2 separate regions of the Homo sapiens genome follow, and region 2 is linked to region 1. Evidence: promoter capture Hi-C in 16 types of primary human blood cells and fetal thymus (Javierre and others, 2016). All regions are on one chromosome and are shown on one strand. Each heading gives the region's core, a stretch centred on a gene start or on the middle of the fragment in contact. The rest is flanking DNA. Distances are from core to core; before and after follow the strand shown. Region 1 holds the start of ADORA2A-AS1 (ADORA2A antisense RNA 1). Region 2 overlaps SPECC1L (sperm antigen with calponin homology and coiled-coil domains 1 like).

Region 1 (6,849 bases), core at 2,131-4,630:
CTCTGCCCTCCCATTATCAAAGGCGGTGCATTACCACATCCTACACAGCTTCATCTTGGAGAACCTAACCAATCCTCAAGCCATACCCTGTGTAGACGCAGTCAATGACCATGTGCTGTGCCCACCGAAAGGCCTGGTACAGGAGATGCAGTGGAACACTGAGACAGACTGAATGCTTATGTCTGCCCCAAATTCATATGTTGAAATCCTAATCTCCAATGTGATAGGGCTCTTTCAGAGGTGATTAGGTCATGAGGGTAGAGTCCTTTTAAAAGACCAAGAGGGCATGCTTGCTTCCTGCACCATGTAAGAACACAGTGAGAAGGCACCATCAAAAACCAGAAAGTGGGCCCTCAACAGACACCAGATCTGCTGTGGCACCTTGATCTTGGACTTCATAGCATTCAGAACTGTGAGGAATAAATTCATGTGGTTTAAGATGGGGAAAGAGACCGCAGCCAGATGTTGGTTACAGCCAGGGTTGCACACTCAGACAAGAGCTCTGCCACCTGACTTCTTCCTGGTGTGAGACCACAGGCTGAGGACAGTGTTCACTAGGACGTTCCCAAAGGGCTGTCCAGCTACCAGGCCCACAGACCTTTGGGGAAACAGACACACAGACCCTTCTCCTTTTTCTCCCTGTGATTGCCCACAAGTACAGGGAAGTCTGGTATTCTGTTATAGTAGCCCAAAAGTACTAAAACATCAATCAGCCACTGCCCAGGAGGACAAGACCAGCAAATGAGCCATAACCTCACAGACGGCCTCCTGCTGCCACTGCCTGCCCTGGTCCCTGTAGTTGGCTTTCAGACCCTCTACCCCTCACCCTGCTACTGAGGCCTCCCCACTCAGGGCTTCCCTTCAAACTTCAAGGAGTAAAGCCCTTCACTTCCCATCCTAGCCCCACCATGCCCTTCAGGGCCCCCACCTCTCCCACCCAGGGTCAGGCAGACCTTGCCAGAGGACACCAAGTTCCTGCCTCCTCAGCAACCTCTCACTTCTGGAACTTCATCTTTCCATGTCTGATGGCTCTTTACCACCAGCACTTTAAATCATTAAACTAGAGCTCTGTTACAAAAGAGACATGTGCTCATGGCGGGGGTGAATCAAATAGTGGGAAAGGGTATAAAATGAAACATACATTCCCCTTTCTACCCCACCCCTAGTCCCAAAACTCAGAGGCAACCCCTCTTAACAATGTTTTATGTCTCTTTCCTATTTTCCTACGTGTATGCATTACAAATACAATGGTATCATTCTGTATTTTCTGTTCTTCAACTTGCCTTTTTCACTTAATACACATAGCTTGGACATCTTTCTCCACTAGTACCTACAGACCTCCACATCCATCACTGAAGCTGTTAAAGAGTCTCTCCCGTTGAAAAACAGAAGGGAGATAGGGGGGAGAGAAGGTGAGGAAGAAAGAGAAAGAGGGACAGTGTTCCACATATGTCCATGTGTTTACTCACTTGCTGTCTCTCCCTGCTGCCTAGGGAGCTTCCACACATGCTTCCCCTCAGCTCAGGCCTTACCTCCTGGCCCCATCTCAGGAACTGCCAACAGCCTTATCATGGCTAAATCCAGCAGACTTCCTGCTGTCCTCACCCGCTAGACATTTCTGAGCCATCTGATGCTTCTTTCCTGTCCTGCCCCAGAGTCCTCACCTCCAGAATCTCCCACAAAGTCTCTTTCTCTGACCCCTTGAATATCCAGGTTTTCCAGCATTCTCTCCAGCGCCCTCTTTTGTACCTGCTCCTCCTTCACCTGGAATGACCATCTCCAGGGCAGCTCAACAAGCCCAGCCTCGCCCACCTGAGGCCCACCTCCACATAGCAAATAGCCCCTGAGTTATTTCCACCTGCAGACCCTGAAGCTACTGTAGCAGGTTGAGCTGTGTCTCCATCCTGACACCTGGAACCTGTCATTGTGATTTTATTTGGAAAAAGGGTCTTCACAGACGTAATTAAGGTCAGGATCTCAAGATAAGATCATCCGGGATTATCCAAGTAAGCTCCAAATCCAAAGACGTGTGTGTGTGTGTGTGTGTGTATGTGTGTGTGTGTGTGTGTGTGTGTGTGTGTTTGAGACAGGGCCTCACTCTGACTCCCAGGCTGGAGTGCAGAGGAGAGATTTTGGCTCACTGCAGCCTCGACCTCCCAAGCTCAAGTGATCCTCCCGCCTCAGCCTGCCATGTAGCTAGGACTACAGATGCATGCTACCATGCTTGGCTATTTTTTTAAATGCTTTATAGAGATGGGTGTCTCACTATGTTGCCCAGGCCGGTCTCGAACTCCTGAGTTCAAGCAATCTTCCAGCCCTGGCCTCCCAAAGTGCTGAGATTACAGGTGTGAGCCCGGCCAGGAAGTGTCTTTTTCAGCTTTGTGGACACAGTGTCCAGCAGTATACAGCCCTCAGAAAGTCCTGGTGATGCACAAGCTTGCAGGGAGTGGAAAAACCAGCGCCCATGGCTTGCCAGTGGGAAAGGTTCCCTCGCCAACTAAATGCAGACAGCCTCTATTTCCAAGGGTCAGCCAGAGGTCGGGTCACCGCAAGAAGGATGGTCTGGGGCCGGACAATCAGTACACCTGCTGGGTGCTCTGGTTGGAGACAGTGATCCAGCCAGACATCCAGAAGACAAGCCCGGCTCCGGGGAGGAGGGTTGGGATGGCCACAGAGAAAGCCCTGGAGAGTAAAATCCCGTCCTTTTCCTTCCGGTTCTGGGCAACGTGGGGGAGAAGAGATTTGTAAAGGTCACGCCAGGATTCTGCAACCCCCAAGGACCCCGGGGCCGTCCCATCAAGACCTACTATGGTCTCTGCCCGCCAACTCAGGACTTCTCACCGCCTCCCCTGAGCCCTTCAGACCCTGAGGCCCTCCCTGCCTGCTCCCCCAGACCCACACTCTGTGGCCCCAAGACCCCATTAGCTTAGCCTCTTGGCTGCGGACCTGAGTTCCTTGCCATAGAGAACGCGCTTCACTTCCTGCAAGTCGGGGAGCGGCAGGTGCTTCTCCAAGCATTCCTCCAGCGACTTCCACTCAGCGCCCGCCATGGCCACGGTCCGCCAGTGCTTGTGTCCGCGCACGAACTGCCTGCCCTTTGCCCGCAGTGGGAGGAGGTGCCCAGGCCCGGTCAGGCGCCCTTGCCTTTATCTCTTACTCTCGCTCCCAGACAGCTCAAGTGAGGACACGCCACTTCCTCGCGCAGCCAATCCGCCTTCCAGGGCTTCGCGGGTGGGACCGCCCCTGGCCTTTAGCGCTCCTTCGGCACGTGCCAGGACACGTTCCTCTTGCCGCCTCCGCAGCACACGGCCAATCAGCCTCCAGGGCCTCACGTGGGGAGGGGGCGAAAGGATCCGGCGCTTGCCCTTCGCCCCTTGCCCTTCGCCTCTCGGTTAGCAAGCGATGAGGCACGCCCCTCCACAGGCGGGACTGCGCGGAGTCGTCGCGCCTCGGCTGCGAGTCAGGACTGAGGCTGTCCCCCTCCCGCCTCCCTCAGGGGCCCTGGCGCGGGTGCCTCCAGGTTCCACCCCTCACCTGCCCCTTGGTGTCGGGCCGGGACCCTGGAGAGGTCGTGAGGGAGTCCTGGGCGCGGGCTCCGGGAGGCTGCGGCGCGGGTCTGAGGTAAACGGCCCGGCCGCTGCGGGCCCTTGCGGGGGCTGGTTCCAGCAGCAACCGCCGGGCAGGGCCCCTCCCGACCGCGACCTCCTGTCCGCACCGTAGGGCAGCCGGCCGGGCCAGCCTCCCTCACAGGACTACCGAGGAAGGTAAGGGAAGAGTTTCAGTGTCCCACGGGCACGCGGCGGCTGCACCTCTGTCGTCCGGAGCCTTTATGTCTGGGGAGTTTTAACCCCCGAGGGGCCAGGCTCGGAGTCCATGCCGCTACCTGGGTCGCGCGTTCCCACCCCCGGCTTTGGGGCCGCTGGAGCCGAAGGTCAGTTGCTCGCCTGCGGTTCCGTGCGCCTCGGTGGAGCTAATATTGTAAAATGCGGGGTCCCCGGGTGAGGGCGCGCCCCCTGCACCCTAGGGCCCCTTTTCAGCCCTGCCCTCTGCCGCGTGTGTGCAAATATGGGCACTTTCCTGCGGTAGGGTGCGCTTTAAACTGTCACTGAGATGGTAGGAGTGAGAGCCCCATTTGCTGTTACCGCGAATCCAGAGGGTGCCATCCCTTCAGGAGCAAAGAAGCGTCCTCTTTGGGGTCCTATTGAGAATTAGGGCAGTAAGGCCCGCTTACTTCGGCGGGCAGCCGGGTGAAGGAACCAGTCTGTAGAAATCCTATTCAGCCACTTGTAAACCTTGTGACCCCAGGAAAGTTTAACTTAGTCGCTGGAGGCTTCTGTTGCTTTATCTGTAAAATAGGAATGCAAAGATTACGCTGCGGGGTTGTTTAAAAGTCAGAAAAGGCCAGCACGGTGGCTCATGCCTGTAAACCCAGCACTTTGGGAGGCCTAGAAAGGGGTATTGTTTGAGGCCAGGAACTCCAGACCAGCCTGGGTAACACAGCAAGACCCTGTATCTACAAAATAATGTTTTACAAATTAGCCTATCATGGTGGTGCGCACCTGCTTCTTGGGAGGCAGAGGTGAGAGGATCGCTTGAGCCCAGGAGTTCGAGGCTCCCTAGCTATGATCTTAACACTGCACTTCAGCCTGGGCAACAGAGTGAGACGCAATCTCAAAGAAAAAAAAAAAAGAGGCAAGTAAAATGAGCACAAAGGGAGCTAATTTATATCTAGAATCAGCTACTAACATTAAAAATATTATACTTCAGGTATTTTGTTTCAGCTGCTAATTCACAAGTTTTGTTCCTTGTTTTGATAAATGTTAGCTGACGGTTTCTAGTATCTGATGGAGCTGCCTTCTCAAGAGTGCAAACTCTGAGGACTTTCTATGTGTAAGGCACTGCTAAGAGAGCCATATAAAGACAGATAAGACCTAGTACCTTTTCTTTGTGATTTAAAGTAAAGACGGCTGGGCACGTTGGCTCACACCTGTAATCCCAGCACTTTGGGAGGCCGAGGCGGGCAGATCACCTGTGGTCAGGAGTTCGAGACCAGCCTGACCAACATGGTGAAACCCCGTCTCTACTAAAAATACAAAAATTTGCCGGGCATGGTGGCGCATGCCTGTAATCCCAGCTACTCGGGAGGCTGAGGCAGGAGAATCGCTTGAACCCAGGAGGGGAGGCGGAGGTTGCAGCGAGCTGAGATCGTGCCATTGTACTCCAGCCTGGGCAACAAGAGCAAAACTCCGTCTCAAAAAAAAAAAAAAAAAAAAAAAAAGGAAAGACAAACTTGTAAATACAGCAGATTTAAATAATTTGAGATGAAAAAGATACTATGGAGTGCAAAGAGGTGATTTCTGGCTTAGAGAAATTGTTGGAGGTCTCATGGAAGAGGCTTCAAAGCCAACTCAAAATGCTTCAAACTGAATGAACTTTCACCTCCTTTCTCAAGCAGGCTCTTATCTTCTTTTGTTGTTGTTGTTGTTGTTGTTACAGAGTTTCGCTTTTGTCGCCCAGGCTGCAGTGCAATGGTGCGATTTTGGCTCACTGCAACCTCCGCCTCCCAGGTTCAAGCGATTCTCCTGCCTCAGCCTCCCGAGTAGCTGGGATTACAGGCGTGTGTCATCACACCCAGCCAATTTTTTGTATTTTTAGTAGAGATGGGGTTTCACCATGTTGGTCAGTCTGGTCTTGAACTCCTGACCTCAGGTGATCCGCCTGCCTCAGCCTCCTGAAGTGCTGGGATTACAGGCATGAGCCACCGCGCCCAGCCTCTTATCTTCTGCACTGTATTCCCTATTTCAGTAATGGCCTCACCACCCACTGATTTGCCAAGTTTTTGAGAGTCATCTGCAACTCCTCCATGTTCTTTCTTTCCTCAATACAATCAGGCATCAAGTTCTGCTAAATTTATCTCCTGGATTTTGTTCATATCCTTCCTCCTCCCTCCTCATGTCTGCCTCCTGTCATCTTTTGCTTGAATTGTTGCCAGTCTTGTAACTTGTCTCTCCACCTCCAATGTCTATCCTTAGTTGTCTTTCTAAAACTAGTATCTTACCATCCTTTGTACCCTCTCATTCAGTGTATCCCTACCTGGAATCACCTTTCATCCTTCATTTTGTGACCGCCTTCTCATCCTCCACCATGCAGTTGAAACATCACTTCTGTAAAGACTTCTCCAATTGTCCCAGAAAAAGTTAGGCTCCCCCAGGCCTTCATAGATAGTTCTCTTGTTACATTTATTAAACAGTATTGTGTAGTTATTTCTGTGCTGTCCTCAGAAAATGGACCGGATCTACTTTTGTATCCAGAGGACTTTAGCACTCAATAAATGATTATTGAAGGAATCAACTCTGGGATCATGGACAAATTCATTAAGGTGATAACACTGAGCTGGACCTCGAAGCAGTAGTAGAAGCTATTATTACTAGTTAAATTGTTTAGTTCATCTTTCCCTATTGTTCAGTGACAGGTCATTCGTACTTGTTCATTGTAAACCAGTGTTTCATAAATAAAACTTAGGATTTAAAAAGTTGTATTAAAAATGTTTATATTTGCCCAATTTACTTTTTACTCTGAATGATAGCAAGACACTTCACTAGCTCTTTCTGTGGTAATCATTTTGTTTTTTGCTTTTTTTTTTGAGTTGGAGTCTCCCTCTGTCACCCAGGCTGGAGTGCAGTGGAGCAATCTCAGCTCACTGAAACCTCCACCTTCTGGGTTCAAGTGATTCTTGTGCCTCAGCCTCCAGAGTAGCTGGGATTACAGGCACACGCCACCACGCCCGCCTAATTTTTGTATTTTTAGTAGAGATGGGGTTTTACCACGTTGGCCAGGCTGGTCTGAAAC
Region 2 (6,849 bases), core at 2,797-5,296, 120 kb after region 1:
GCAGTGGTGTGTTATCAGCTCACTGCAACCTCCACCTCGCAGGTTCAAGTCATTCTCATGTCTCAGCCTCCCAAGTAGCTGGCATTACAGGTGTGTGCCACTACACCTGGCTAGTTTTTGTATTAGTAAAGATGGAGTTTTGCATGTTGCCTAGGCTGGTCTTGAACTCCTGGCCTCAACTGATCACCCGCCTTGGCCTCCCAAAGTACTGGGATTACAGGCATAAGCCACTGTGCCCAGCCAACTGTGGGTTTTCATAGGTACCCTTTATTAGATTGAGAAAATTACCTTTTATTCCTAGTTTTTAAAATCATAAATGGCTGCTGGATTTTACCAAATGCTTTTACAGTGTCTAGTGAGATGATCATGCGGTTTTTTCCCCTTTATTCTAATAATATGGTATTACAGTATTAATTCATTTTCATATGTTGAACCAACCTTGCATTGCTGGGATAAAGAACACTTGGTCAGGGTGTATAATCCTCTTTAATATACTGCTGGATATTGTCATTATTTTGTCAAGGGCTTTTACAGTTTTCTTTTTTTGTAATATCTTTTTCCGTTTTTGGTATGAGAGTAATGATGGCCTCACAGAATGAGTTAGGAAGTAATATTTTCTTTGATTTTTGGAAGAGTTTGAGAAGTATTGCTATTAATTCCTCTTTTAAAATTTGGAAGAATTAACCAGTAAAGTAATCTGGTCCTGGGCTTCTCTTTGCTGGAAGTATTTTGATTACTAACTCAATCTCATTAGTTGTTATTTGTCTCTCCAGATGTTCTTGCTTCTTGAGTCCATTTTGATAGTTAATGTTTCTAGGAATTTGTCCATATCATCTAAGTTATCCAATTTTTGGCATTCATTGTTCACAGTATTCCATTTTAATCCTTTTTATTTCTTAAGGTCATTAGTAACGTCCCTTTATTCCTGATTTTGGTAACTTTAGTCTTCGTTTTCTTTTTATCTATCTACTTAGAGGTTTGTCAATTTGTTTATCTTTTCAAAGAACCCATTTTTTTTTCATTGATCTTCTCTATTGTTTTTCTATTTTCTATTTTATTTATTTTGGCTCTAATCTTTATTTCCTTCCTTCTGCTTATTTTGGGTTTAGCTTATCTTTTTTCTACTTCCTTTTTTTTTAAATTATACTTTAAGTTTTAGGGTACATGTGCACAAGGTGCAGGTTAGTTACATATGTATACATGTGCCATGTTGGTGTGCTGCACCCATCAACTCGTCATTTAACATTAGGTATATCTCCTAATGCTATCCCTCCCCCCTCCCCCCACCCCACAACAGGCCCCTGTGTGTTATGTTCCCCTTCCTGTGTCCATGTGTTCTCATTGTTCAATTCCCACCTATGAGTGAGAACATGCAGTGTTTGTTTTTTTTTGTCCTTGCGATAGTTTGCTGAGAATGATGGTTTCCAGCTTCATCCGTGTCCCTACAAAGGACATGAACTCATCATTTTTTATGGCTGCATAGTATTCCATGGTGTATATGTGCCACATTTTCTTAATCCAGTCTATCATTCTTGGGCATTTGGCTTGGTTCCAAGTCTTTGCTATTGTGAATAGTGCTGCAATAAACATACGTGTGCATGTGTCTTTATAGCAGCATGATTTATAATCCTTTGGGTATATACCCAGTAATGGGATGGCTGGGTCAAATGGTATTTCTAGTTCTAGATCCCTGAGGAATCGCCACACTGACTTTCACAATGGTTGAACTAGTTTACAGTCCCACCAACAGTGTAAAAGTGTTCCTATTTCTCCACATCCTCTCCAGCACCTGTTGTTTCCTGACTTTTTAATGATCGCCATTCTAACTGGTGTGAGATGGTATCTCATTGTGGTTTTGATTTGCATTTCTCTGATGGCCAGTGATAATGAGCATTTTTTCATGTGTCTTTTGGCTGCATAAATGTCTTCTTTTGAGAAGTGTCTGTTCATATCCTTCGCCCACTTGTTGATGGGATTTTTTTTTTCTTGTATATTTGTTTGAGTTCATTGTAGATTCTGGATATTAGCCCTTTGTCACATGAGTAGATTGCGAAAATTTTCTCCCATTCTGTAGGTTGCCTGTTCACTCTGATGGTAGTTTCTTTTGCTGTGCAGAAGCTCTTTAGTTTAATTAGATCCCATTTGTCAATTTTCGCTTTTGTTGCCATTGCTTTTGGTGTTTTAAACATGAAGTCCTTGCCCATGCCTATGTCCTGAATGGTATTGCCTAGGTTTTCTTCTAGGGTTTTTATGGTTTTAGGTCTAACATTTAAGTCTTTAATCCATCTTGAATTAATTTTTGCATAAAGTGTAAGGAAGGGATGCAGTTTCAGCTTTCTACATATGGCTAGCCAGTTTTCCCAGCACCATTTATTAAATAGGGAATCCTTTCCCCATTTCTTGTTTTTGTCAGGTCTGTCAAAGATCAGATGGTTGTAGATATGCAGCATTATTTCTGAGGGCTCTGTTCTGTTCCATTGGTCTATATCTCTATTTTGGTACCAGTACCATGCTGTTTTGGTTACTGTAGCCTTGTAGTATAGTTTGAAGTCAGGTAGTGTGATGCCTCCAGCTTTGTTCTTTTGGCTTAGGATTGACTTGGCAATGCAGGCCTTTTTTGGTTCCATATGAACTTTAAAGTAGTTTTTTCCAATTCTGTGAAGAAAGTCATTGGTAGCTTGATGGGGATGGCACTGAATCTATAAATTACCTTGGGCAGTATGGCCATTTTCATGATATTGATTCTTCCTACCCATGAGCATGGAACGTTCTTCCATTTGTTTGTATCCTCTTTTATTTCATTGAGCAGTGGTTTGTAGTTCTCCTTGAAGAGGTCCTTCATGTCCCTTATAAGTTGCATTCCTAGGTATTTTATTCTCTTTGAAGCAATTGTGAATGGGAGTTCACTCATGATTTGGCTCTCAGTTTGTCTGATATTGGTGTATAAGAATGCTTGTGATTTTTGCACATTGATTTTGTATCCTGAGACTTTGCTGAAGTTGCCTATCAGCTTAAGGAGATTCTGGGCTGAGATGATGGAGTTTTCTAGATATATAATCATGTCATCTGCAAACAGGGACAATTTGACTTCCTCTTTTCCTAACTGAATACTCTTTATTTCTTTCTCCTGCCTGACTGCCCTGGCCAGAACTTCCAACACTATGTTGAATAGGAGTGGTGAGAGAGGGCATCCCTGTCTTGTGCCAGTTTTCAAAGGGAACGCTTCCAGTTTTTACCCATTCAGTATGATATTGGCTGTGGGTTTGCCATAGATAGCTCTTATTATTTTGAGATACGTCCCATCAATACCTAATTTATTGAGAGTTTTTAGCATGAAGTGTTGTTGAATTTTGTCAAAGGCCTTTTCTGCATCTATTGAGATAATCATATGGTTTTTGTCACTGGTTCTGTTTATATGCTGGATTACATTTATTGATTTGCGTATGTTGAACCAGCCTTGCATCCCAGGGATGAAGCCCACATGATCATGGTGGATCCAGCAGCAGCTGGATTTCGTTTGCCAGTATTTTATTGAGGATTTTTGCATCAATGTTCATCAGGGATATTGATCTAAAATTCTCTTTTTTTGTTGTGTCTCTGCCAGGCTTTGGTATCAGGATGATGCTGGCCTCATAAAACGAGTTAGGGAGTATTCCCTCTTTTTCTATTGATTGGAATAATTTCGGAATGAATGGTACCAGCTCCTCCTTGTACCTCTGGTAGAATTCGGCCGTGAATCCATCTGGTCTTGGACTTTTTTTGGTTGGTAAGCTATTAATTATTGCCTCAATTTCAGAGCCTGTTATTGGTCTACTTCCTTAAGGAAGAAACTTAGATTACTGCTTTGAGATCTTTCCTCTTTGTAAAGGTGGGTGTTTATAAATTTCCCTTTGAGACCGGGCGCGGTGGCTCATGCTTGTAATCCCAGCAGTTTCGGAGGCTGAGGCAGGCAGATTACCTGAGGTAAGGAATTCAAGACCAGCCTGGCCAACATGGCGAAACCTCGTCTCTACTAAAATACAAAAATTAGCTGGGCATGATAGCACACGTTTGTAATCCCAGCTACTTGAGAGGCTGAGGCAGAAGAATCACTTGAGCCCGGGAGCCGGAGCCTGCCGTGAACCAAGGTCGCACCACTGCAGTCCAGCCTGGGTGACAGAATGAGACTCTGTCTCTCAATCGATCAATCAATCAATCAATCAATCAATGTCAATCCCCTTGAGAACTGCTTTCGCTGCCTCCCATAAATTTTGGTATGCTGCGTTCATTTTTGTTCTCAGAGCATTTTCTAATTTCCCTTGTGATTAATTTTTTGACCCACTGGTTATTTAGAGTGTGTGCTTTAATTTTCACTTATTTTCCAATTTTCCTTCAGCTACTAATTTCTAATCTTTCATTGTGATCAGAAAAAAATGAAGAAAATTTAAATGCTTTCCATCTTTTTATTTATTTCATTTTAATCTTTGTAGAGATAGGGCCTCCCGATGCTGCCCAGGCTGGTCTCAAACTACTGGGCTCAAGTGATCCTCTCATCTTGGCCTCACAAAATACTGGGACTACAGGCACGAGCCACCACATCTGGCCAATTTCAGTCTTTTTAAATTTAATGAGACTAGTTTTATGACCTAACATATGGCCTAACCTGCAATCTTCCATGTGCACCTGAGAGAAGAATGTGTATTCTGCTATTATTGGGTGCAGTGTTGTATAATGTCTTTAGGTCTGGTTGGTATACAGTACTATTCAAGTCTTCTATTCCCTTGCTGGTTTTCTATCTGGTCTTATCTCAATCTTTCTTTTTTTTCTTTTTGCAGTGGAGTTTTATTATCATGGTAAATATACATAAAAAATCATTTTAACCATCTTTAATTATACGGTTCAGTGGCATTAAGTATACTCATATGATTGTGCTACCATCACCACCATCCATCTCCAGTACTTTTTTCATTTTGTAAAACTAAACTGTGTACCCACCCCCTTTCTTTTTTCCCTCCCCCAGCCCCTGGCAACCATCATTCTACTTTTTGTCTCTATAAATATTACTAACTCTAGGTATTCCATATAATTAGAATCATGTAGTATTAGCCCTTTTGTATATGGCTTGTTTCATTTAGCACAATGTCTTCAGTGTGCATCGTGTTGTAGCATGTGTAAGAATTTCCTTCCTTTTTAAGGAAGAATGGTATTCCATTGTATTATATACCACAGGTTGTTTATCCATTCTTCTATCGACAGACACTTGGGTTGCTTCCACTTTTTGGCTACTGTGAATAACACTGCCACAAAAATGGGTGTGCCTAAAATATTTCTCCAAGTCTCTGCTTTCCTAGAAGTGGAATTTTCCAGAAGTGGAACTGCCAGATCATATGGTAATTCTGTTTACTTTTTTGAGGAACTGCCATACTATTTTCCACAGCAGTTACAACATTTTATAGGTCCCCTCCAACAAAACATAAGCCTGCCCATTTCTCCACATCTTTGCCAACACTACTTATCTCCTTTGTTAGCCAGTGGAAGCTGGCATGGAGATTCTTTTTTTAAATTATTTTCTCTTCTCTTTTTTACTTGCCACTGGCTTGAAGCTGAGACATGGAGAGTCTTAGTAAATCCTCAATGATTATCATGACTTTTCTGTATGTCCACTGCAATATGCTTGGCTCTTTAATCTTAAATGAGTTGAGGATCATCACTTAAAGTCATGTACAAATTCATCCAAAAGTGACCTGTTAATGGCAGATCTTCTTTTCCTCTACTAATGTTATTACCTCTTTTGCATGAAATTTGTATGCAAATGTTGTAGCCACACCTTTTATGCCATTTTGGTGAGATGAAGTCTAATGTGAAGAGATCAGGAACATAGAACTCCATTCCCTTTTTGTGTTGTACTTCTGTGCATTTGTGCCAAAGCATGAAATGCAATCAAGAGTACCAGCTGCAAGCTGGGGAGAATCTCTGTAACTAATACTGTATGTGAGGACACTAGAAATCAAAATTGTATTTTTTAGCAGAATGGATGAATTCTACAGGTTTCCCTTTTGTATGGAGAATTAGAGTCTGCTCTCCAAAGTTATATTTAACGTAACTTAAAAAAAGCATTTAACCTGGACTTAAGTAAGAAAGTGCTACAACAGATGAGTAATATTGGAAATATTGGGTACTGTGGAAAGGTAACAAACTTATTTCACCCAAGTGATAGTCAAGTTATGGCTGGACTTTGAGAATGTGTTCCTAACATTTTGTATAGGACTCATCATTTCTTCTTTTATCAGCTCACAGCAGCCTCTGCCTCCCAGGCTCAAGTGATCCTCCCACCTCAGCCTCTCAAGTAGCTGGGACTCCAGGCACACACCACCATGCCAGCTTATTATTATTTTTATTTTTGTAGAGACAGGGTTTTGCCATGTTGCCCAGGCTTGAACTCCTGGGCACAAGTGATCCATCTGCCTCAGCCTCCCAATGTGTTAGGATTATAGGTGTGATCCACCATGCCAGGTCAGGACTTATCATTTCTAATGTGTGACACGTAGTAAGCTACGACACTCCAGCAGTTGGTTTGCCAATTACTCACATGGGACAAAAGAATCATATGATTACCTGATAGCCTTCTGTTTTCTTCTGACACCACTTCAGCAAGGCGTTCCTCTTTGATCCTCCATATTCTCTGGCCAATGCTGAGAGAGGGTCTTTCCTTTCTTCTCTGAAAACAAGTAACCCAAAGTTGAAATATTTTTTGTTTGGGCACCAGAATAAGAGAAAAGTATTAAAGTTTGCATTTTTAAACAGGGGAAATATACATGGTAAGGCAATACAAAGGCAAGACATAGTTTTTCATACATTTGATTTTTAGTT

The links. Contacts are between HindIII fragments. The CHiCAGO score rates a contact against its expected background, and 5 or more counts as called.
Region 2: a contact is called between a fragment that was not itself captured here and the fragment with the promoter of ADORA2A-AS1 in region 1, in 2 of 17 cell types (monocytes and naive CD8 T cells). The highest score is 6.0, in monocytes.

Annotation. Positions count from the first base shown.
Region 1 is chr22:24,491,605-24,498,453 of GRCh38, reverse strand. It overlaps ADORA2A-AS1 (ADORA2A antisense RNA 1), which reads left to right and starts at 3,380. Exons shown (of 7, transcript NR_028484.3): 1 at 3,380-3,764. It overlaps UPB1 (beta-ureidopropionase 1), which reads right to left and starts at 3,122. Exons shown (of 10, transcript NM_016327.3): 1 at 2,947-3,122. The coding sequence starts at 3,050. The HindIII fragment of the contact is 15,084 bases long and covers 2,439-6,849 here.
Region 2 is chr22:24,369,066-24,375,914 of GRCh38, reverse strand. SPECC1L (sperm antigen with calponin homology and coiled-coil domains 1 like) reads right to left here. Exons shown (of 17, transcript NM_015330.6): 14 at 6,595-6,697. It overlaps SPECC1L-ADORA2A (SPECC1L-ADORA2A readthrough (NMD candidate)), which reads right to left. Exons shown (of 20, transcript NR_103546.1): 15 at 6,595-6,697. Among named protein-coding and RNA genes, the nearest start is that of ADORA2A, 55 kb to the left of the region's middle. The HindIII fragment of the contact is 8,316 bases long and covers 1-6,849 here.